Regions from separate parts of the Homo sapiens genome. Here all the other regions are linked to region 2. Evidence: promoter capture Hi-C in 16 types of primary human blood cells and fetal thymus (Javierre and others, 2016). All regions are on one chromosome and are shown on one strand. Each heading gives the region's core, a stretch centred on a gene start or on the middle of the fragment in contact. The rest is flanking DNA. Distances are from core to core; before and after follow the strand shown. Region 1 overlaps NUP37 (nucleoporin 37). Region 2 holds the start of IGF1 (insulin like growth factor 1). Region 3 overlaps WASHC3 (WASH complex subunit 3). Region 4 has its middle 10 kb from the start of DRAM1-AS1. Region 5 overlaps PARPBP (PARP1 binding protein).

What was found. The method cuts DNA at HindIII sites, captures the fragments that hold promoters and counts their contacts. A CHiCAGO score of 5 or more calls a contact.
Region 1: a fragment that was not itself captured here is called in contact with the fragment with the promoter of IGF1 in region 2 in 1 of 17 cell types (megakaryocytes); the score reaches 5.1 in megakaryocytes.
Region 3: a fragment that was not itself captured here is called in contact with the fragment with the promoter of IGF1 in region 2 in 1 of 17 cell types (megakaryocytes); the score reaches 5.8 in megakaryocytes.
Region 4: a contact is called between a fragment that was not itself captured here and the fragment with the promoter of IGF1 in region 2, in 1 of 17 cell types (megakaryocytes). The highest score is 6.1, in megakaryocytes.
Region 5: a fragment that was not itself captured here is called in contact with the fragment with the promoter of IGF1 in region 2 in 3 of 17 cell types (endothelial precursors, megakaryocytes and total CD8 T cells); the score reaches 8.6 in endothelial precursors.

What each region holds. Positions count from the first base shown.
Region 1 is chr12:102,108,498-102,113,370 of GRCh38, reverse strand. It overlaps NUP37 (nucleoporin 37), which reads left to right. Exons shown (of 10, transcript NM_024057.4): 3 at 1,139-1,263. Among named protein-coding and RNA genes, the nearest start is that of NUP37, 9.2 kb to the left of the region's middle. The HindIII fragment of the contact is 4,522 bases long and covers 171-4,692 here.
Region 2 is chr12:102,479,169-102,484,245 of GRCh38, reverse strand. IGF1 (insulin like growth factor 1) reads left to right here and starts at 3,683. Exons shown (of 4, transcript NM_000618.5): 1 at 3,683-3,927. The coding sequence starts at 3,865. LINC02456 (long intergenic non-protein coding RNA 2456) reads right to left here. Exons shown (of 13, transcript XR_007063427.1): 11 at 358-5,077. RefSeq lists enhancers at 394-453, 4,828-4,877, 4,968-5,077. The HindIII fragment of the contact is 6,669 bases long and covers 1-4,426 here.
Region 3 is chr12:102,056,387-102,061,540 of GRCh38, reverse strand. It overlaps WASHC3 (WASH complex subunit 3), which reads left to right. Exons shown (of 7, transcript NM_016053.4): 2 at 195-293. Among named protein-coding and RNA genes, the nearest start is that of WASHC3, 3.0 kb to the left of the region's middle. The HindIII fragment of the contact is 3,599 bases long and covers 1-3,049 here.
Region 4 is chr12:101,971,878-101,976,795 of GRCh38, reverse strand. No RefSeq gene overlaps it. Among named protein-coding and RNA genes, the nearest start is that of DRAM1-AS1, 10 kb to the right of the region's middle. RefSeq lists an enhancer at 2,081-2,250. The HindIII fragment of the contact is 279 bases long and covers 2,013-2,291 here.
Region 5 is chr12:102,156,366-102,161,415 of GRCh38, reverse strand. All of the region lies in intron 4 of PARPBP (PARP1 binding protein), which reads right to left. Among named protein-coding and RNA genes, the nearest start is that of PARPBP, 39 kb to the right of the region's middle. The HindIII fragment of the contact is 639 bases long and covers 2,574-3,212 here.

The sequences.
Region 1 (4,873 bases), core at 1,182-3,681, 370 kb after region 2:
CTTCCCTTACTCATGGTAGGTATTTTGCATGGCAGGATTTTCTTTTTGTTTGTCTGTTTTTTCCTGCTTTCCCCTTAATCGGGCCCTGGATCTATGCAGAAATCTCTGATCTGGCATCCTTCCTTGTGCAGGCACTAGGATTTGTCTCTTCTCTCTTGCAAACTGAAGCTTTAAATCATTGCATGTAGGCAGATACCCTTATAACAGCTGCATACCTTGGTAGTCGTTTGCTTGTCTGTATTTGAATTTTTGCAATGTTGTAATGGGAGAACTTTTCAGGTTATTGTCTCCATTGCCAGCGACAGATGGCTTGACTTTTAAAGTTGATTTTTTTTCTCACCTTCCCGTGAGGATAAACTGAAATCATTTTAGTAGGGCTGAACTGGATAAATAAGCCAACTTTATTAAGCATTTATTCCCAGAATCAAATATCTAAAACTAAATTAGCCAGATTATTTATTACATATTCACTATTCATAAACAATAATAGTTCAGATGAATTATTTGTAGCATCTTACACACATATAATGCCACATGTAACACTACATGAAAATCATTGACACTGATTATAAAGACTTTGAGGTCTTTATAAGGTCCCAAAGTATTTTCCATGTAGTGAGAATGTACAGTGTATTTTTTTAATATTGTCAGTAGATAATCCGGTTCTGGTAATTCATTTACCTAGAATATCTTGATTCTTTAGAGCATTCCATTTTCTTTGTTTTCTTTTTTTATAACGTAGACACAGGTCTCACTGTGTTGCCCAGTCTGGTCTCAGACTCCAGAGCTCAAGCAATCCTTCCACCTCAGCCCCGCAAAGTGTTGGGATTATAGACGTGAGCCAACACGCCTGACCAAGCAGTCCATTTTCATTGAACTTATTATGAAATGCCTCCTAAGATAAAGTAGAACATGTTTACCATTTGTTTCTAGTTGCCTTAGAGAGTTATTTTGTGAGGCTTAGACAACTTTGGATTTTTTTTTAATTCAATGAACTAGTTAAATCTTAATATGTAATTTGCTTTTGAACTTTTCAAAAGCATAAGCATAACCTCCTGATAAATTCATTATAATGAAATACAGAATATTATATTGTTTGTTCTCATTACTTATTAAAACATTTACTGTGTATGCTTAGGAAGAAGAAGCAGACGTTGAAGGCATTCAGTATAAAACACTTCGAACATTTCACCATGGAGTCAGGGTTGATGGCATAGCTTGGAGCCCAGAGACTAGACTTGATTCATTGCCTCCAGTAATCAAGTAAGTTTAACAGTACCAAATGCATTCCTTACTAATGTACTTTGATTGTGTTACATGATTGGAAGTCTGATCATAGATACTTTTTTCTCAATTTCCATTTTCCACAATCCAAGATATTAGATATTTTGATATTTGCTACTACTTAATAATTTAGGCTTATCATCTGAATTTGTGATTTAAATATACAGCCATGACTATGATGCCTTGACCATGTGTTTGAGCCAAACTACAAAACCTTTTACGTGAGATTCATCTGAATCAAGGTCTTTACAGATTGTTCACTGAATTTACAACTTTATTGAAAGTATAACTTAAAATAACTAAATTTGGTTGAGACATTAATGAGCTTTCCTTCCCCACCCATAGGCCAAGATCACATTTTTTTGTCCAACAGTATATAAATCTGTAAGTTCTGGTCCTGGACTTCAGTTTTTGTGAAAGTGTTTAAAAGGAATGATGGTTTTCTGAGAAAAAAATCCTAGCAATGCCTGCTGAAGCCCTCTTTACAGGGGCAAGAATATGTTAGGTTATTTAAGATCTGTTACAAAACACTAGCCTTGCCTTCTACAAATGTCAAATCTAAAAGATGTGTCTTCTTTTAGTAGACAGTACTTAGGAACTAAAAGTTATCAACTATTAAGCTAACTTCGTTTTTTTTAAATTAAGGGATAATTTAGATACTCTGAAATTCTCAGCTCTTAAGGGTATAGTTTGATCAGTTTTGACAAATACGTATATTTGTACAACCCACACCCTATTCATGCACTGTTTCTGTCACCCAAGAAAGTTTCGTCATACTTCTTCCCAGTTAATCATTGTACCCCACTCCCTGCAGAAGCAACCATTGATCTGATTTCTATTACCAGAAATCAGTTTTGCCTATTCTAGAACTTCATATAAGTGGGATCATACAGAATGTCTTTTGTGTCTGGCTTGTTTTTGCAATTTTTCCACATTGTTATGTATACCAGTGCTTTTTAAGTAGTACTCCATTACAGTGTATCAATAGACCATAGTCTGTTTATTCATTCTTCTGTAAATAGGTACCAATACAGTTTCTAGGCTTTAGTTATTATTTTTTGCTGAATACTGCTTTGGGTGGTTATATGATTTAATTTAGGAGTAGAATTGCTGAGTCACAGGGTAGATGTATGTTTAACATTTTAAGAAAATGCCAGTTTCTAAAGTGGTTCTACCATTTTGTCTTTTCCCCAATAATCTAAGGGTGGTCTTCCTACTCTCCAACACTCATTCATTCATTTTGAGACAAGGTCTGGCTCTATTGCCCAGGCTGGAGTACAGTGGCACCATCTCCACTCACTGCAATCTCTGCTTCCCAGGCTCAAGCCGTCTTCCCACCTCAGCCTCCTCCTGAGTAGCTGGGACTATAGGCGCCCATCATCATGCCTGGCTAATTTTGGTATTTTTTGTAGGGACAGGGATTTGCCTGTTGCCCAGGCTGGCCTCAAACTCCTGAGCTCAGGCAATCCATGTGCCTTGGCCTCCCAAAGTGCTGGGATGACAGCATGAGCCACCATACCTGGCCTATTCTCCAATATTTGCTATTGTCAATCTTTCTTTTTTTTTTTTTTATTTTTTTGGTACATGGTCTCACTCTATCTCCCAGGCTGACAGCCAGACCCATAATCACAGCTTACTGCAGCCTCAACCTCCCTTGGCTCAGCCTCAACCCTCCCTCTCACCTCCGCCTCCCAAGTAGCTGGAACTACAGGCATGCACCACCACTCCCGGCTAATTTTTTGTATTTTTTGCAGTGATGGGGTTTCGCCATGTTGCCCAGGCTGGTCTCGAGCACCCAGGCTCGAGCAATTCACCTACCTTGACCTCCCAAAGTGTTAGGATTACAGGCATGAGCCACTGTGCCCAGCCTGTCTTTTTAATTTTAGCCATTCTGGTTGATGCCACAATGACATTTCCATGATGAGTGATAATGCTGACGCTTTTTTGGTATATTTGTTTCTTCTATTAGAAATCTTTGTGTGATTTCTTATAGGTTGTGAAGATGTTGCATGTTTTTTCCTAGAAGCCTTTACCGATATTTAGCTAACTTAATTGAATAATCTACACAATAGCTTTTGTCAGCACACGTAATGTCATTGCCAACAGCTGGTGTGCTGTTGATTTCCTTTTATATTAAAAGAAAGTGGTCACAATATCTAGACCTAAACAAGAACAAGTCTCTTTGATTCTTTAAATTTTTAAAGCTGTGGAAACAGTCTTCTTCCCTTGGTTTTAAGTTTTGTGATACCTCTTTAATCTACATATTCAGCTGTTGTATTCTATGCTTTCCTTGTTGCTTAGTACTTGTTTTCCTGTCCTCTTTTTAGTGAATTTGCTGTGTTTCATCATTTCTGGTTGGTGTTTTTGTTTGGTTGGATTTTTCTTATTTTTTGGTAAACTGTCTCAAGACCTTTTTGGAACTATACAAATTCAGTAACAAATTCAAAAGACATTAGCAGGCCATTAATTTTAGACTATTTTTAGAGCAACCTGAAGGCACAATCTTGTTTTCAAATAAATTATTTTTATTATAAAATAATGAATGCTTAATAAAATTTAGAAAACACAGAAAATAAGGAGAAGAATGCCACCTATACTCCCAATACCCTTTTCATTTTTGTACATAATTGTACATAATTGTGATTATACTATAGTAACTCTCTGTACTTTCTTTACTTTGCTTTTTTATAGTATTCTAAAATAAATAGTAGTCTATCACCATGACTAAGGTATAACTCAGCATCTCTCTTATCATCATTAATTTTTATCTTACATTTAGAAATCCTTCATGATGGCTTATCATTAGCATGTAGTTGCCTTAAATTCTCTTTCTCCCTGCCTTTCTACTCTTTCCATCCCTACTTGCTTTTCTTGCGTAGTGGCTAGAGAATTCATTGTTCATGTTATTTCAGTTCTCTGAGGTTTTCTGGTTCAATTAAAGAAGGACTTAAATATCCCTGAAACAGCAAGGATTCAAAGAAAAGTGGGGCAACACAAGGCTGGCCATAAAGTTTTCTGGGTTTGTTTGTTTGGTTTTATTTAGATCCCAGTAAGATTATTAATTTTCTTTTTAAGTAAGTATTCTTTGATTACTGTAACTCCTCTATTTGCTGACATTTTTACTGAACTTGGCTTCATTTTGCTATTAATACCTCTTTACAAACCCTTTTAGTTGGGATGTTTCTTTTAACAACTTCCAAAATAGCTTTTATCTGTTTTAGAGATGACATTTTGAACAAAGTTTTATGATTTCATTATGCTATAACTGAGGAAATCCGTAGGAGACCCTCAACATGAGTGATATTATTGTGGCAAATTTGTCTAGAGTTTCCTATGAGCAAATAAATAATGAATTCCCAAAATAATAATTGGACAAATTCAAAGGAGAAGAATTAGGTAGAATAAGCTTTGTTTTACAGTTTTTCTTACCCTTTATTTGCATGTATAAAATATAACATACGTGTTTAAACACACATAGAGTATGTATTAGGGTTCTCTAGAAGGACAGAACTAATAGGATAGATGTATATATGAAGGGGAGTTTATTAAGGAGTATTGACTCACACGATCACAAGATGAAGTCCCACAA
Region 2 (5,077 bases), core at 2,434-4,933:
CTGAGCAGATGTTTTGGAGCTGACATTAGGCCCCTTGCTCGGCAGCATGTTGAGTTTTTGAGGCCCTGTCTTTCCTCTGAGTTTTATATTCTGAATTGACAAGTTCTTGACCTCCAACATTAGTTTGAGCAACCCATGACCAACCCTCCTCACAAACCATGATCCAAAAGAAACATCCAATAGTTTCCCCCAAGTTCTTTGCCTGGTGGTTGCCCTAGAACCTTAAGCCTCACCCTTTATTTGATTCCAAAATTCCCTTACCTCCAAATGTCCATTCTGAGCTTTCCTTGGGAGTAAGCAAAGACATTCATGAAATAAATTGTAAATATGCCCTATTGTACATGGATATGAAATTACCTTTTGGATGAACGCCTCTCCAGTTAACACAGGAAAGACTGGGAACATGGCTTGAGAAGAAAAAAAAAGTTGGGGGGAAGACAGGGAGGGCCTCCTTGCCCACCCCACCCCTGCTTTCTGTGTACCTTAGCCAGCTCACCCTTTAAGGAAATGAACAATTTTTTCTGTGTGTGTGCGAAAGGTGTCAGAAGTTTTCTGAGGCTGTAGCTTTATGCAAATATGCTACTCAAGAAGAAGGCTTTAGGGGAGAGTTATTTATATCCCACAGGCATTACACATGCAAAAGGTGAAACTGTGAATCTCTGAATTTCCAGGAGTGGATGTTCTTATGATAAGCACATCCTTGCGGTTAGCTATTTTGGTGGCCATATCTCACTGTCAGATTTTTGCAGGCAGGAGACTACATAATCATTCCATACTTTTATAATGACCCTAGATGTTTCTCTCCAATGGGACTTCATAACCTGAACTCCTCTTGGGCTTTAGATTTACTACTACCTTGGATTTGTAGTAATAGGTGCATTCATTTCTTTTACTCCTAAACAGGTACATCACTTAGCCATTAAAAAGTAATCTGGTGGCATGTTTATTGCTCTTTCATTTTCATATTGACTCCTGGAATTAGCCAAGAAAATGACCTTTTCTCTAGGAATTATTGCCCTGATCCATTGCTGGCTCACCCTGTCCAAAAATATAGACCATTCTCCAAATTGAAATATACATTAATCACCTCAGGAAATTGCTTCCCCCATTGGAAACTGATAGCTCTCATTGGAATGTTTCCAAAGCACAGCTGATGACAATTACGACTCACTGAAATTTCAGTTTTCTTTGATTGTGACATAAAAACTAGGACATAAATTAAAACCTAATTATCCTTTAAGGGTAATTGGGGTTACAAAACCGAGAGACTGTGAGTCAGTGTGTCAATATCGCTGGAGTACAGCATCTGTCCCCAAAACAGCCTTTCATATGAAATGCTTGTGGATAAGGTTATATCTGTGCACCGAGCATGCCAAGAGAGAACATCAAAATGGGTGATAGACTTGGAGACATATAGTTAGCTTCTAGGACATCTTGGAACAATTAAAGTATGCTAAAACTGCAGTGGGAAGGGGTTAAACAAAGTCCTGGCCTTCACCTGTAATGGTGTCCAATGTTGGAACAAGAACTTAGCACCAAGACTCCAGCCAGTATCTGACTCTCCAAACTTGGTTAAAGAGGTTTTTTCTCATCTGGAAGACAGGTGAGATCAGCTCTATTGTTTTATACAATCTACATCCTCAAAGTCTGTAAGAGAATAGACATTTTTCAGAAAGGGTGTGATCCACAAAAACTGCAGAAAAGAAAAAGATTTGTCACAAATCAAGTGTACAAAGAGAGCTTATTAAAGGAAGCCACGGATTATTATTAAATGCAGGGATTACTCACACATCTGCACATGTGGATAATCCCTGCATTAAGAATAATCCAGGGCCACCTACTAGGCCACCTCTTGATGATACCTCTTAGTGTGCTCTTTGGGTCAAATCCCACCCACTGAAATTTCCCAACATGGTACCCCAAAGCCTCTCATGACACAATCTGCCTCCCTCATTTTGGATTTTCCAAAAGATTTTACTCCCCTGTCTTCCCAGAGAATGTGTCACTCCCTCTCATTGTGCACTGTTCATGTTTTTAAAAGAGCACATGCCCATCATATGACTGTGAAGTTTTCCTCTTTGTCTCTGACATTCAGCTGAAAGCCCCTGAAGGGACTTGACCATATCTTATTCCTCTTTGTTTTCCTAGGGATGTTGTAGTTGGGCACATAGTAGAGCTCACAAAATGTTGCTGAACATAGTGCACCATTGACACAACATAATTCCAGATTTCTAACTTTGATTTCTGAAAGGTAAACATTGCTACAATGTATTAACCACACAGAAGACTCAAACAAACCCAACCCCCTTCCAAACAAAGCAGGTTTGTTTGTTTTTTGTTAGGGCACCCACTTCTACAAACAAATTTCTGGCCCCAGGATAACACAAAGAGCCAGAGTAGGATTTCAAGCAGAACTGTGTTTTCAGTTGATGTGTCAGTCCCCTGAGAGTCATGTGGAAAAAAAAAAAAAGAAAAAATTCAAGGTCCAGGTTATTTCCACCACTCCTGGGAAACCAGGCCTGGAGAGCTCTCTAGGGAAAGAGGTATGTCTGCTCTGGGCTTTTGCAACCTTATTTTATAATTCACTTTCTTATCTACTGCTTCACAAAACCAAAGGGAAATAGGTACAAACTGTATCGACAAAAGATCAGAACTGAATTCTCAATGGCAAAGGCAAGTGTACATTATAAATAGCAAAACAGCTGGCTTGGACCATGTTGCCGGCCAGTCACCCAGTTGAGGGATTTGAATGACATCATAACCCTCGAGAGGGTATTGCTAGCCAGCTGGTGTTATTTAGAATACACAAAAATCAGAGAAAGAAAACACACTCTGGCACACAGACTCCCTCTGTCATACACACACACACACACACACACACACACACACACACACACAGGTTTGAGTTATATGGAAAATTCAAACAACAGGAAAATTGTTTGCCCCCCAGGTACCCTTCTCCCAGAGTGGTGGGGTGGGGAGGGGACAGTGACAGGCAGCCTAGTAGAAGAATAAAGAAAAATGTTCTATTTCAGTTGGGTTTTACAGCTCGGCATAGTCTTTGCCTCATCGCAGGAGAAAAAGTATGAGACAGTGCCCTAAAGGGACCAATCCAATGCTGCCTGCCCCTCCATAGGTTCTAGGAAATGAGATCACACCTCTCACTTGGCAACTGGGACAAGGGGTCACCCGAGTGCTGTCTTCCAATCTACTTTACCCCAGTCACTTCAGGGTTAAAATTGTAGAGTTTGCTGGAGAGGGTCTTATCGTCCTTTCTTTCTTTTTTTGTTTTAAATAATGCATTTGCTCTAGAATCTAAAATTGCTCTCCCATCCCCCATATTCCTTTAATACTGGTAAGGTGTATTAGCAGACGTTTGTGTCTTCATGCCCAGCAGAAAGTTAATCAGAAAACAGATCCTTATTTTCTATGGCAGCATAAGTATTTTAATGTCTGCGAACCCTGTCACTAACACACATTCTTTTAAGGGAAAAAAATGCTTCTGTGCTCTAGTTTTAAAATGCAAAGGTATGATGTTATTTGTCACCATGCCCAAAAAAGTCCTTACTCAATAACTTTGCCAGAAGAGGGAGAGAGAGAGAAGGCAAATGTTCCCCCAGCTGTTTCCTGTCTACAGTGTCTGTGTTTTGTAGATAAATGTGAGGATTTTCTCTAAATCCCTCTTCTGTTTGCTAAATCTCACTGTCACTGCTAAATTCAGAGCAGATAGAGCCTGCGCAATGGAATAAAGTCCTCAAAATTGAAATGTGACATTGCTCTCAACATCTCCCATCTCTCTGGATTTCTTTTTGCTTCATTATTCCTGCTAACCAATTCATTTTCAGACTTTGTACTTCAGAAGCAATGGGAAAAATCAGCAGTCTTCCAACCCAATTATTTAAGTGCTGCTTTTGTGATTTCTTGAAGGTAAATATTTCTTACTCTTTGAAGTCATTGGGGAATTCTATTTAAATTGTGTACTGTTTGCTTCTGCCTAGAACTGTTCTTCACTTTAAAATTTTCATTGTTTCGGAACCGAGAGTTATTTATAAATTGCTGAATATGCAATTCTGTGGAATCTGAAAAATAGCTCGGGGAGATGGATGCATTTGCACAGATATCTGTATGAGTAGAAACTATTGCAAGGTACTTATGCTAAATCCTCCACTTCTGCAGGGCTTCCGTGGTGTCATTACAGAAGATTCCTTTAAATCCTCTCTATGGCTAAGGGCTATAGAGCATGGATATGAACTTGGGGATTTTTTTTTTCTTTTGCAGGTGCAGATGTTTTATTTTTAAGACCATGTTCTTTTGCATGTGTGTATGTGTCTCTGTGTGTATGTGTCTCTGTGTGTGTAACTCATCAGGACTTTATTTACAAGGCATGCTATATATGAAGGGTTGTATTTTAGATGATATTAAAGCTTTTAAATATGATCTTTGGAGCTAAGGTCCCGGAACTCTGCACTTATGCCCAGAGAGAGTGTTAAAGTTAGAGTAAAGTGTAATTTGTTCTTCCAAAAAAGAACTCCTTGACAACTCTTGCTGACCTTGCATATTTGTATAATTTAAACAAATACATACTGTATATGGAAAGCAGAAACTTTCTAAGAGCTGCTTGCCCAACTTTTCTGTTTAGAAGAGGACTTTCATGGGCAAAGTTTGGACTTGGGGTTCTGTGTTATAAAACTCTGATTTTATATTCAGTGTCGTGAAGTCCCTTTAGGTAAATCTGGCTGCTGCTGTCAGTGCACCGACTTCTCGTTTCCGATTGCTGGCCGTAGTTCTAGTTTCCATTCTCAGCAAAATTATATCCTTCAAGACTTGTGTTTTTTTTTCAATTTGCAAGCGCTTTTAAGCTGCTGTCACTGGCTCCACCGATTCAATTGCCTGAGGGCTCAATTCATAAGACGTCTCTGCCACTTAGTGCAGCATTCAGTTGCTGCTTTCAAACACTTCACCACTACGACTTTCCCTAGTCAAGTAAGTGGCTCCAGGAGTTAAAGATACACCCTTGTCAGGCACCTGATTCTGCTGTTCCTGAGATGCCAACACATGCAGGCCACCTTGCTTTCAA
Region 3 (5,154 bases), core at 1-2,500, 420 kb after region 2:
CTCAAACTTTTGTGCACCTCTGTCATCTTCGGACACCCCACCCACAGCTTAGGAAACAAGTTAATGACTATTCCCAGTCCTTCAAGAAATTCATATCACACAGCAAAGTGCCTCGTGATTATGTCCAAATATGAAAAGATTTGCACTGTGTACGTTCCTCCTGTATGAACCATGTTTGTTTTTACGTAACACAGGTGCCAGCTATTCAACAGAAAAGAACGGTGGCTTTTCTAAACCAATTTGTGGTGCACACTGTACAGTTCCTCAACCGCTTTTCTACAGTTTGTGAGGAGGTAGGTCCGGTGATACTGGTTTATAGAGTCGCCTGGAAATCACCTTTCACTGCTGAGACTGACAAATGGAGTAAAACAAGAATTACAGTCTTTATTCATGTACCGTGACCTCTCATCACCCAATTGTGTTAACACATCTTAGGTTCTCTTTTACTCTGTTAAAATCAATCCTGCACCCCTCCTCTACTGAGTTAGTGTTCTAGAGGTCCCTGTGAGATAGGTCAGTCAGGCTTATTGCGATTAAAGGGAACAATAGGAAATCTAATTTTTTTTTTTTTTTTTTTTTTTTTTGTGAGACAGGGTCTCACTCTGTCACCCAAGCTACAGTGCAGTGGCGCGATCTCGGCTCACTGCAACCTCCACCTCCCGGGTTCAAGCGATTCTCCTGCCTCAGCCTCCTGAGTAGCTGGGATTACAGGCATGCGCCACCATGCCTGGCTAATTTTTTATATTTAGTAGAAACGGGGTTCCAACATGTTGATCAAGCTGGTCTCGAATTCCTGACCTTGGGCGATCCACTAGCCTCGGCCTCCCAAAGTGCTGGGATTACAGGCGTGAGCCACCGCGCCCGGCTTCTAAAATTTCACAGTTGAAAACAGTTTTTATTTTGCAATTTGTCATTCGTTCCCGTACCCCAAAACCACATTGTTTAAATTTATTTTACATTCTGGATCTAAAAGATGGCTAGAGGAGATAGCCTAGAAACATAACTTTGGCATCAAATATGATTATAGAAATGAAAATATTTTCTGCAAATGACTTGTGATGTAAGGATTAAGTACCCAACTAGGGATTAGGTACCAGAACTGGCACAGCAGTGCGCACCTGTAATCCCAGCTACTCGGGAGGCAGAGGCAGGAGGATCACTTGCGCCCGGGAATTTGAGACAAGACTGGACAACAGAGAAACTCAGTGTTTTGTTTTTGTTTTTGTTTTAAAAAAGAGGATTAGGTACTAGATCCAGGATCCAGGGAATCCCTGTCTTTTAAAAAGCCAAAAGAGGATGGGGAAGACAATGGGAACCATGGGTTGAAATTGCATTTAAGGAAAGAGCAAAGTAAATTATGGGACTTAGATATTCACAAGTAAGTCTGTTGAACATTCTGTCTTATGTAAGGTATAGCCTTAGCAATTAGAGTTTTTGTTAAGTGTGTTACTACTATTAATAAAAATTGCATGGAGATGGGAAAACTATTTTTTACTTGTATGAAATTCCAGTTATTGTTTTGTCTAATTATCAACATTTCTTCTGCCTTCTAAGACAAAGTAAAATATAGTAATTGGTAGAGTAAGGGGCTTAATTCAATTTAGTTTTATATGTTAATGGCCAGAAACTAGGTGCTTGCTTCCAGTCAGTTTTATTTCGTTCCTACTATCTCTCTAAATAATTTAGGATATAAAATTGACTGAATAAAAACCAGTAAGCCAAGGTTTTCACCCTTCGATTTTTATACCAGGGCAAGATGGAGAAGTATCTGGAAAGGGACTGTCCCAGGATTACTAGCAGAAAGAAGCAAATACTCTTATCCCCATAGCCCTTATCATCAAGCTGAAAAATAAAGAACAAAGCAACAAGTAAACACACCTATGAAAGCAACTTGTTTGAGCTGTCCTGAAACAGGGATAGCCCTTCACCTTTGTAGTGCCTAATGGTTCTTGAATGAGAGCTGTTTACTGACAACTAGATCAAAGAAAACAATAGTCATCTCATTTATTGATAGATTATGATCAAAGCCTCATGAGTCACTCTTTAACCTCCTCCTGTTCCTGTCTCAACTTCTCTGCAGCTGTTCTGGCTGTATCTGTATTCTAGTACTTCTTTGAACTCTAGAGAAAAGTTTGTTCATCAAAACCTCATGAAGTTTAAAGGTAGTCTATTGCCTTTTGTCCTTTTTCAAAAATCTTATTTCTTTATTTAAATTGACAGGTAAAAATTGTATTTTTATGATGTACAACATGATGTTTTGATATATGAATACATTGTGGAATGGCCAAACCAAGCTATTTAACATAAGCAATGCCTCACGTACTTACTTTTTTTTGTGGTGAGCACACTTAAAATCGCCTCTCTTAGCAATTTTCAATACAATATATTGTTATTAACAGCAGTCACCATGACATGTAGGAGATCTCTTGAACTTATTCCTCCTGCCTAACTGAAATTTTGTATCCTTTAACCGCATCTCCCCAATCCTCTTAACCCCAAGCCCCTGCTAACCACCATTCTACTCAATATTTCTATGAGTTGTACTTTTTTATCCTCCATATATAAGTGAGATCATTCAGTATCTGTCTCTGTTTGACTGGCTTATTTCATTTAACACAATGTCTTCCAGTTCATTTATGTTGTCACAAATGACAGGATTTCATTCTTTTTTAAGGCTAAATAGTATTCCATTGTGTATATATACCACTTTTTTTAATCCATTCATCCATTGATGGACACTTTTGATTCCGTATCTTGGCTATTGTGAATAATGTTGCAGTGAACTTTCAAGTACAGATGTCTCTTGAATGTACTAATTTTACATCCTTTGGATATATACCCAGAAGTGGGATTGCTGGATCATATAGTAGTTCTATTTTTAATTTTTTGTGGAACCTCTGTACTATTTTCTATAATAGCTGTACTAATTTACATTCCCACCAACAGTGTACAGAGGTTCCCTTCATCACATATATGGTTTCCAAATATAGTCTCCCATTCCATAGGTTCTCTTCACTCTATTGATGGTTTCGTTGGCTGTGCAAAAGCTTCGTAGTCTTTTAAAATAATTTTTAAAAAATAATTTAAAATCCAGATTCTACAAACTTCTTAGTGTGATGTAATCCCATTTATTTATTTTTGGTTTTGTTACCAGTGCTTTGGGGTTTATATCCAAAAAAAGTCATTGCCCAGACCAATGTCGTGCAACTTTCCCCTTATGTTTTCTTCTAGTAGTTTTACAGTTTCAGGTCTTACATTTAAATCTTGAATCCTTTTCGTGTTAAATTTTTTTATATGGTAAAGGATGAGGGTCTAATTTCATTCTGCATGTGGATATCCAGTTGTCCCAAAATGATTTATTGAGACTGTTATTCTTAACATCTGTGAAAAGTATGTTTCTGTAACTGTCTTTTCTGTGTTCTTAACATCTTTCTCAAAAATCAATTGACTTTAAATGCATGGATTTATTTCTGGGCTCTTTATTCTGTTTCCTTGGTCTATGGCTGTTTTGATTACTGTAGCTTTGTGGTAGATTTTCAAATCAGAGAGTGTGATCTCTCTGGCTTTGTTTTTTTGGCTTAATATTGCATTGCCTGTTCAGGGTCTTTTGTGGTTCAGTATGAATTTTAGGATTTTTTTTTCTATTACTGTGAAAATATTATTGGAAAATTGATAGGGATTGCATTGAGTCTGTAGATTGCTTTGAGTGGTGTCAACCTTGTAACAACATTCATGTTTCCAATCCATGAACACACGTTATCTTTCCATTTATTTGTGTCTTCTTCAATTTTTTTCATCAATGTGTTATAGTTTTCAGTGTACAGATCTTTCACCTCACTGGTTAAATTTACCCCTATGTATTTTTTTTGTAGCTATTGTAAATGAGATTTTTTTTCTTTTTTTTCAGATAGTTTACTTTTAGTGTATAGAAATGCTACTGATTTTTGTATGTTGATTTTATATCCTGCAGCTTTACCAAAGTAGTTTGTTAGTTCTAACAATTTTTTGGTGGAATTTTTTATAAGATTTTCAATATATAAGAGCATGCCATCTGCGAACAGAAACAATTTCATTTCCTTTTTTCCAATTTCAATGCCTTTTATTTTTCCCTCTTGTCTAATTACTATAGCTAGGACTTCTAGTACTATGTTGAATAGAAGGGGTAAGAGTGAATATCCTTGTCTTGTCCCTCATCTTAGAGGAAAAACTTTCAGTTTTCACCATTGCGTATGATGCTAGCTGTGGGCTTGTCATAAATGGCCTTCATTGTGTTGAGCTAGATTCTTTCTATACCTAATTTGTTGAGAGTTTTTATCATCAAAGGATGTTGAATTTTGTCAAATGCCTTTGTTCCATCTATTGAGATGATCATACGGTTTTTGTCTTTCATTCTGTTAATGTGATGTATCACCTTTACTGATTTGCATATGTTGAACCATCCTTGTATCCCAGGGATAAATCTGACTTGATCCTGGTGAATGACCTTTTTAATGCGCTGTTGTATTCAGCTTGCCAGTATTTTGTAGAGGATTTTTGCTTCTATGTTCACTGGGGATATTGACCTTTGATTTTCTTTTCTTGTAGTGGATTTGTCTGGCTTTGGAATCAGGATAATGCTGGCCTCCTAAATTGAGTTCGAAAGTTTCCCCTCCTCTTCAGTATTTTGGAAGAGTTTGAGAAGGATTTGTATTAGTTCTTCTTTAAATGTTTGGTAGAATTCAGTAGTGAAGGCATCAAGTCCTGGGGGTTTTGTTTAGTGGGAGACTTAACTACTGATTTGATCTCTCTACTTATTATTGGTCTGTTCAGATTACCTATTTCTTTATGATTTAGTCTTGATAGGTTGTATGTGTCTAGGAACTTATCCATTCTAGGTTATCCAATCTGTTGGCATATAATTGGTCATAGCAATCTCTTATGAGCCTTCATATTTCTTTTGTTTTAATTGTAAAGTCATGTTTATTGGAGTATGAACTTATATGCAGTAAAATTTACCATTAAGTATGAGATTGGACAAATGCATAATCATACCATAATCAAGATGTAGAATAGTTGTAGAACAAGATATAGAATCACTCCAAAAATTCCCTCATGCTCCTTTGCAGTCACCCCTTTTTTATCCCTAGGAATGCATTGTTCTGTTTTCTGTCAAAA
Region 4 (4,918 bases), core at 903-3,402, 510 kb after region 2:
TTGGCTAGGGCTGCCATAACAAAATCCATAGACTTGGTGGCTTAAACCACAGACATTTATTTCTCACCATTCTGGAGGCTGGGAAGTCCAAGATCAAGATGCCAACCAATTCAGCTTCTGGTGAGATCTCTATTCCTGGTTTGCAGATGGCAGCCTTCTCACTATGTCCTCACATGGTTGAGAGAGACAGAGCAAGCTCTCTGGTGTTTCTTCTTATAAAGGCACTAATCCCATCATAAGGGCCCCAACCCTCATGATTTTGTCTAGCCCTAATTACCTAGCAAAGGCCCCATTGCCAAATAGCATCACATTAGGGATTAGGGCCTCAACATATGCATTTTTAGAGAACACAAACATTCATTTCATAACAGATCATGTGAATGTAAATTTCTGCATTGTATGAAAATCCCCCCAATCAAGTTTAATGTATAGACTGTTATTGTCTTCAATCACATCATTTTGCTAGAGAGTTTAAGTGACAGCTAATTGCAAACTACAGAGCTGCCTTGATTTGCCGTCTCTATGTTCATTTTACGAATACAACCATAGGAAATGTAAAGTTCTCCTTTGGCTAGACACCCTGGAGGATACCACATCTAGAAGACACCACCTAGTGAAGTGTGTGAAGTTTTGGGTGATGGTTAATAGATTCATGGGTAATTGGGTATGAACACAAATATTTTTCTAACACTTATCAACTAATAAGGACTGGAGACTTATCAGCCTGTTAAAATGAGGTTCTAACAGCTGTACTTTTACCTTTTTCACTAGACTATAGGCTGTGGGAGGATGAAGTGTTTTCCCTAGTGTCTAGCCCAGTGCCTACCAGCAAGATGGGATTTAGTATTACGTGAACAACTGAAAAAATGATTAAATGTAAAACCAATTTATTTGTTAACACTTGACTAAAGTAAAATCATGTATTTCTCAAAATAAACTTGGTCTGAATTGGCTGAGACTTTTGTGACTGCTGGATCATGCTTTTTGAACGAATTAGAAATAAACCACAAAATCAGGGATTTAAAAGTAATTCTTCACAAACGTGTTCGTTATAAATCCAATTCACGTATCCTGCTGAATTGGCTGCTTTGTGTAATTGAGGGCCAATTTCAACGTTCGCATGACAATGAAAATCTCAAGCTTAAATTTATTAATACGTTGCCTTGGCAGAACACCAGCCCTCTTAATAGCAAAATATGGAGAGAAAGGATATTAGTCTCCAAAGACTTGAGTTTGATTTTGAAAATAAGCTGATGTTCATTTTTTAAAAATCATTCATAAGAAGACATAACTGTGGAACTATAAAGTTATTTACATGGAAAATAATTTAAAGGACAGAACCAAACAAAATGTTAGTACAGTGTTTAGTTGGAGTTCCTGTTTAAGGAGAGCCCAAAGATAAAGATATTTAAGTGTTTTGGGGCCCACCTGAGCAATTCAAGTCTTGAATAGCTGCTAGCTCACTAATCAGATAACTCCTAATCTAGACATAACTGACAAATAATTTGCCAAATACACCAAGATATGAAGCAGAAGCACTGCGTGGTTAACCAGACAGATCCCAGCAAAAGAGATGACCACATTTCTAATAACTGTGGCTGTCATTTATTATCAGCACTATATCAAGTGCTGGACAGTCATCATTTTATTTAATACATACAAAACCCCTAATGAGCAGATGAGAAACAAAGGCTTAAAAATAGTGGAAATAAATTACCTCAAATCAACAAATCTTTAAACAAGAAAGCAGGATTTAAGCCCAAGATTGTTTAATGGCAAAGCCTTTGCTATTGACCACTCCATATTATTTTATTGTTTCTCAAAGGATGGTAGTTGAATTGGCAACATCAGCAACAACTGAGAATCTATCCCAAAGTCTCAAATTCTACCCAGGTCTACTGAATCAGAATCTCTGGCTATGAGACCTACAAGTTTGTTTTAACCACCTCTCCAGGAGATTCTAAAGCTCACTAAAGTGTGAGAAGTACACCTCTACTCTATTTCTCCAAGCTTAAGAAAATATATATAATATTTCACTTTGCCAGTGAAGATTCTTACAAAACCCAGAAAATGCATATCACATCCATTTCCTTGTTTAGGCTATGTGATCAATTGTCACTATAATTCCTACAAACAGAATATATAAAATGAGCTCCAAGGAAAATGACACGATAGCATTATTAACCACCTAAAATATGAACAAGGGCTACAATGATTGGAATTCTTTCAAGACCTGACTACACATATTGATTTGGGATTAAAACAGTATCACTTAGCTCACTCTCTAAGCTTTAACAGATAAAACAAAATTTTAATATAATCTGACAAATGAGTATCTTGCCAAGAGGGCAAGAAAAGTCAAGAGCAACCATCCAGTGTGCTGTGATGAAAGTGAAACACATGAAAATGACAATCTGAATTTCAATCTATTGCTATGAGTGGTTATCTTGCCAAATAATGAAATGTATTGACCCTAGTGCTGCGCTGTCATTGGCATGTTATACAGACATTGAAATTTTCTAAGCAAAGTTGCTGGAGGTCATTCAAATATTTATAATGGTGTAATAGGTGAACTGAAGACTCTCTTTCAAAAAATTGTTGTTCCAAATTCCTTGATGAAAAAATGTTTGGAATAAAGCAAAGTTTATATGCAAACTTATATGACTGAAATTGACTTTTGTTTCCCTGGGAATTTAAGAATCTTTTTTAATAGTTGAGAGCTGGTGTACAGCTGCAAGAGGATGTCTTAATAAGAACCCAATATTTATGCTTTCTTGATAGAACAAATGAGAGTTCGCGCTCTGTTTTCTATCTTACTTATGCTGAAAGCCTGGCAACGCTAGAATATAATACTTGCTCCTTCAAAATGTTTCTAAATTGTTGTTCACTGTTTTGTATTTCATCTCAGTGCTGCTTTATTTATAATATTATTAAACCTCAAAGAAACCCATATGGTGGAAGAGAATGAAGAAATTTTGTGATTTCACTGTTTTATTCCTTTATGAAAGAACTGACTTGAAAGTGAAAATTGTTTTAGTCTGCTTTTTATTCACAAGGACTGTGTCCCTGCTTTGCAATGGGATGGCTTAAACAGACAGGTAAATTATATTACACAATAATTTTTTTGACTGATGTATAATTCTAGAGAAATTGTCCTCTTTCCAACAGGTATGTGAAAGTTTATGTAGATAGTTGCTGTTTATATTTATTTATTATTTTTTTAATTGTTTTGTTTTGTTTTTGTTTATATTTAAATAAAGCAAACCCAGCCTTGCAAAAACACAAACATTTTTGTCCAAATACAGACAAGGAATATTGCTACCAGCAGCCCCACTCCTTAAAAATTTCTCGGTTCTTTCTAGCATTACATATTTATTCCTACTGCTTACCATTTTTTCCACTATATTGAGGACCTATAAAAAGCTAGCATTTTTAAGCTAACTTATTTATTTTCATGAGTTCATAATTGTTATATATATTTATGGGATACATGAGATGTTTTGATACCAGCATATAATGTGTAATGATCAAATCAGGTAATTAGGGCATCCATCACCTCAGCTATTTATCACTTATTTGTGTTAGGAACATTCTAGTTCCACTTTTTTTAGTTATTTTTAAATATACAATAAATTATTGTTAACTATAGTCACCCTATTATGCTACTGAATACTAGCTCTTATTCACTTTATCTAAGTGTATTTTTGTATTTATTAACAAGTCCCATTTTATCCACCCCTGCCTGTTACCTTTCCCAGCCTCTGGTAACCATCCTTCTACTCTCTGTCTCCGTGAGTTGTCTTTTTTTTTTAGCTCCCACATGAGTGAGGAAATGCAATATTTATTTTTCTGTGCCTGGCTTATTTCACTTAACGTAATGTCCTCTAGTTCCATCCATGTTGTTGCAAATGACAGGATCTTACTTTTTATGGTTGAGTAATATTCCATTGTGTATAAGGATCACATTTTCTTTATCCTTTCATTCACTGATGTACACTTAGGTTGATTCCATATCTTGGCTGTTGTGAATATTGCTGAGAGTACAGATATCTCTTTGATATACTGATTTTCTTTCTTTTGGATATATACAGAGTAGTGGGATTTCTGGGTCATATGGTAGTACTATTTTTATTTTTTTTAATGTTATACTGTTCTCCATAGTAGCTGTACTAATTTACATTTACACCAACAGTATACAAGAGTTCGCCTTTCTCCACAACTTCACCAGCATTTTTTATAGTTTGTCTTTTGGATAAAAGCCATTTATGGAGAGATGATATCACATTATAGTTTTGATTTGGATTTCTCTGATAACTAGTGATGTTGAGCATTTTTTATTTACCTATTGGCCATGCGTATGTCTTGAGAAATGTTTATTCAGATCTTTCGCCTTTTTAAAAATCAATTATGGCCAGGTACAGTGGCTCATGCCCATAATCCTAGCACTTTAGGAGGCTGAGGCGGGTGGATCACCTGAGGTCAGGAGTTCGAGACCAACCTGGCCAACATGGTAAAACCCTGTCTCTACTAAAAATACAAAATTTAGCCAGGTGTGGTGGCATGGACCTATAGTCCCAGCTACTCAGGAGCCTGACGCAGGAGAATCGGTTGAACTCAGGAGGTGGAGGTTGCAGTGAGCCGAGATGGTACCACTTCACTCCAGCCCAGGTAAAAGAGCGAAACTCCGTCTTGGGAAAAAAAAAAAGAATTATTGGTTGTTTTTTTTTTCCTATTGAGTTGTTTGAGCTCTTCATATATTCTGGTTATTAATCCCTAGTCAGACAGATAGTGTGCAACTATTTTCTCACATTCTGTGGGTTATCTCTTCACTTTGTTGATTGTTTCCCTTGATGTGCACAAGCTTTTTAGTGTGATGTGATTCCATTTGTCCTTTTTTTTTTTTTTTTCTTGCTTTGGT
Region 5 (5,050 bases), core at 1,644-4,143, 320 kb after region 2:
ACTTACCTGAGGCTGGGTGTGGTGGCTCACACCTGTAATCCCACCACTAGGAGGCCAAGGCAGGTGGGTCACTTGAGACCAAGAGTTCAAGACCAGCCTGGCCAACACAGCGAAACCCTGTCTCTACTAAAAATACAAAAAAATTAGCTGGACGTGGTGGCACACACCTGTAATCCCAGCTACTCGGGAGGCTGTGGCACAAGAATCACTTGAACCTGGGAGGTGTAGATTGCAGTGAGCCAAGATAATGCTACTGCACTCCAGCCTGAGCGACAGAATGAGACTGTCTCCAAAGAAAAAAAAACTTACCTGGGATAAAATAAATGCCATATTTTTTATTATGGTGCCTTACAAAGAAAGGTATTCTAAGTCACAACCAAATAAAAATAAGCTTTAAGGCTTCTCCTAAAATTTTATAAAATAATGTATAATATAGTTTTCTGATTATATATATATTTTTTTTTTTTGAGATGATGTTTCCCTCTTGTTGCCCAGGCTGGAGTGCAATGACACGATCTCGGCTCACCACAACCTCAGCCTCCCAAGTTCAAGTGATTCTCCTGCCTCAGCCTCCCAAGTAGCTGAGATTACAGGCATGTGCCGCCACGCCTGGCTAATTTTGTATTTTTAGTAGAGACGGGATTTCTCCATGTTGGTCAGGCTGGTGTCAAACTCCTAACCTCAGGTGATCTGCCTGCCTCAGCCTCCCAAAGTGCTGGGATTACAGGCGTTAACCACCATGCCCAGCCTCTGCTCATATTTCAAATGTCCTTTTATCTTTACTTTCACAGTAAATCACAATACTTCTATTACACAAGTCTATAATATGAGTTTCCATTTTAACTTCACAGTGCAATAGTCTAAGACACAATTCTTTGTATTCCTTTGACATCTGAGAAGAATAACACAATTTACCGAAAATCAAAGCAGAGAAAAAGTGACATTCACATTGTAATCAGAAACTTTTCCTACATTTAACTTAATGCAATCTCTATGTCACTGTGCTTCTGCTGTTCAAAAATAACAAGAACTTAACAAATATGTATATACCTGATCCTAATTGGGTACAAAACCAGGGCTTAAGCTCTCACATCTACAACTTGCTCTTTAAGGTTAGCAAATTTTGTCCTTCTGATCTGTGATGTTGGGCAAACTTCAGGGAAAAACATCTTGGAGTCCTCACAGTTAGAGTGTTTCTTTTAGCTCATGGCTGCAATTGGAAATCTATCCCTCTTATTATGGTCAGATAACATGGCTGTTATGGTTTCCTTGCTCTTGTATTTACAAGTGAGTTTTAAAGAGGTTCCCTGGAAAAGCAGTCCACATAAGTATAGTTATGATGTCCAAGAGCAAGGGCCTAAATTGAAAACATCCACAAGATTGAAGCCTTTACCAAAACACCAAAAATAAGGATACTGTTCTGTTTATTTGTTTAATAAACTGATTATATCCATACCACAAAGTATTTGCAATGTTTGTTTAGAAGCTGGACAATTTTATTTAAGCTTTCTGATAATTCCAAGTTTCTTTTCCTATCTCTTCTTACTGAGAGGCAGATATTCAACCTCAGTTTGAAGAAAGTCAGTTTTTCTAAGCTGAGAAGATTAACAATTTATACAGGGTCTTTTTTTAACTTTTGTTTGCCAATGCATAAATGCTTATATATACTGACAAAAAAAAAGTTGGACAAAAACTAAGATACTTAGTAGATTTTTTTTTTTAACTGATGATTTTCTTTTTCTGGCCTTTATTCTATTATTCCCTTCATTACTTCAGAATTTTAAAAGCAATGGTTTAGTACCTTAGGAAAAATAAAATGAAGTAAAATAAAATAAGGAAACAAAAATATTGTTTCTCAAATTCAATCCATTCACCTACTTGAAGACTGGTGTCATATTAGTAAACACATTTGATGGTCAAAATATTTCTCTGCAAGACTGAAGCCCAAAAATTCACATTAGGATTTTAATTAGAGCTACATTGACTTCCAGCTGGGTGCGGTGGCTCACGCCTGTAATTCCAGCACTTTGGGAGGCCGAGGTGGGTGGATCACGAGATCAGGAGTTCAAGACCAGCCTGGCCAACATGGTGAAACCCTGTCTCTACTAAAAATACAAAATTAGCCAGGCGTGGTGGCACGGCCTGTAATCCCAGCTGCTCAGGAGGCTAAGGCAGGAGAATTGCTTGAACCCAGGAGGCGGAGGTTGCAGTGAGCTGAGATCACACCACTGCACTCCAGCCTGGGTGACAGAGTGAAACTCCGTCTCAGAGGGGAAAAAAGAAATACACTGACTTCCAAAAAGACCTTGTAAAAAGAAAAATTAGAAACTGCAAGTAACAGAAGCATGGTTAGGAAGATGGCTGCCAATTTAATACTCCTCAGAAAATCAAATCCATTAGTTGAACTAGTAGGTAAAATTCTATTAGAAAATATAATCCAAGAAAGCAAAAGTTAGAAATTAGAGAATTAACACAATGAAACTATCAGTGTTGTTTAAATCAGGAAACTACATGCTTATAATCTTTAGTCACAGATACTCCTTTAAACTTTATAAGCCGAAGTTCTAAAAGCTTAATTCTTTTCACATATACAAATTGGTTCATTCCTCTTTAAAAATACAAATATAACAATTATAATTTCCTCCCTGTAGTACATACAGGATAGATAAAAGAGATCTTTAAGTAATCTACCCTTTTGATACACAAATACACTGCTTAAGCGCCACCGAGAAAAGATCAGGCAATTTGGCAATCACTTTGTCAAGATTTGGAGCATCAAGGGAAAAGAAAGGAAATGTAAGTGAAAAATTAATTTCAAGCAAGAGAAAATAGTTACAAATCTCTAAAAGGAACCAGGTCTGGGCAGGAAACATTCAAGGTGGGCTTGGGATATTTTCTTGTACCAGAAAAGAGGAAAATGCTTGAAAAGTCTACTAGAGCATGTAAAAAAGACACAAAAACCTGCTTGAAGCAGCTTCCTCTATTTTAGCATCAAAGATTAATGAGTGTAACTCATTTTAAAACAGTGAATAAATATAAATTCATGAATCCAAACAATAGACACACAAAAAGGAGAGCAATAAAAGAATAAATATCTAATTTGCTTATATTATATATAACTATTACACTAACCCCTAAATTGGTAGAGAATTGAGGAGTTACCCTGAGATTTTTAGAGAAGGGTACTTCATCTCATTTGATAAGATAAAGCTTTATTGAGAAATGGCAAGTAATTAATGTAAAGACATAACAGAATTAGAAGCTCACTATTCTTTTTTTTTTTTTTTTTTTTTTTGAGATGGAGTCTCGCACTCCCTCCCAGGCTGGAGTGCAGTGGCACCATCTCGGCTCACTGCAAGCTCCCGCCTCCCAGGTTCACGCCATTCTCCTGCCTCAGCCTCCAGAGTAGCTGGGACTACAGGCGCCCACCATTACACCTGGCTACTTTTTTGTATTTTTAGTAGAGACGAGGGTTCACCGTGTTAGCCAGGATGGTCTCGATCTCCTGACCTTGTGATCCACTCGCCTCAGCCTCCCAAAGTGCTGGGATTACAGGCGTGAGCCACCGTGCCTGGCCAGAAGCTCACTATTCTATAGATACTACAGAAATAACTGATTCAAGTCAGGATCATCAATGCTTAAAACCATTAGATAAAAGGTTATTGAGAAACAGGATTATTTATACAGTGCCAAAGTGTCACCTCACAGATCTTTGCTGACAGCAAAGGAAAAACTACATCTTTGTACTGGAGAGACCTGGCAATTCAGGATAACCTGAGTTTGTTTCCCAATAAGATATAAAATGAAATACTCTGCATCAGTTAAGAAGTATTTCTTAGGAAATATTAAACCAAAATCTAAGCAAGATTTCAGATATCACTTCCAGTTTATTGGAAATACAGCAAATAGAGAAACAAGTTAAATAATACCACAAGGAATTAATCAGAAAATTAAAAAAAAAAAAGATTAGGGGAATTCTTCTGGAGTAAAAGAGTCTAAGGAGATATAAAACCATTTTGGGGACAAATGGAGAAATTTAAATATGGAAGTTAGTAAATGATATTTTAAAATACTTATTTAAATTTTCTTATTTCTTATATTGCGGTTATGCCATTACTTTTAGGAAATGTACGCTAAAGAATTCCAGGGACCCACATGTCAGCAACTTACTTTCAAATAGGACAGAAAAAATATCAGATGCACATATAAAACACTTTATTAAATCTAGAGTATTACAAGAGTATTACAAGAGACATACAAGAGTATTACAAGAGACATACAAGTATTTGAGGGCACTGATAAAATATATATTTTAAGTGCAATCTATTTAACATGGGACATATAGAAGAATCTACCTCAGCAATGTTTGTCAAAAATGAAGGTGATTCACCAAATGTGTTAACTTACTGGAACAGGTGATTTTGGAAGTAAATGCATTCTAGACCATTTACATATCATATTTCTAAAATATGTTGGCTGGGCACAGTGTCTCATGCCTGTAATCCCAGCACTTTGGGAGACCAAGGCAGGCAGATCACTTGAGGTCAGGAGTTCGAAGCCAGCCTGACCATCATAGTAAAACCTGGTCTCTACTAAAAATACAAAACTTAGCCAGGCGTGGTGGTGCACGCTTGTAATCCCAGCTACTTGGGAGGCTGAGGTGGGAGGATCGCTTGAACCTGGGAGGCAGTGGTTGCAGTAAGTGGAGATCGTGCCACACTGCACTTCAGCCTGGGCAACACAGTAAGCCTCTGCCTCAAAAAAATAATAAGCAAAATAAATAAAACAAAAATAATTAAAATATGTTGAATATAATTTTACTTTTTTCAACACTCTTAAATTCTCATCTTGTCAATGGTGATTTTATTAATCACAGAAACTTTGCCAAGAGTTAAGCCCCGTAAAATATTTAAGGTTAATTCTGGGCCGGGCGCAGTGGCTCACACCTGTAATCCCAGCACTTTGGGAGGCCAAGGTGGGCGGATCACGAGGTCAGGAGATTGAGACCAACCTGGCTAACAGGGTGAAACCCCATCTCTACTAAAAATAC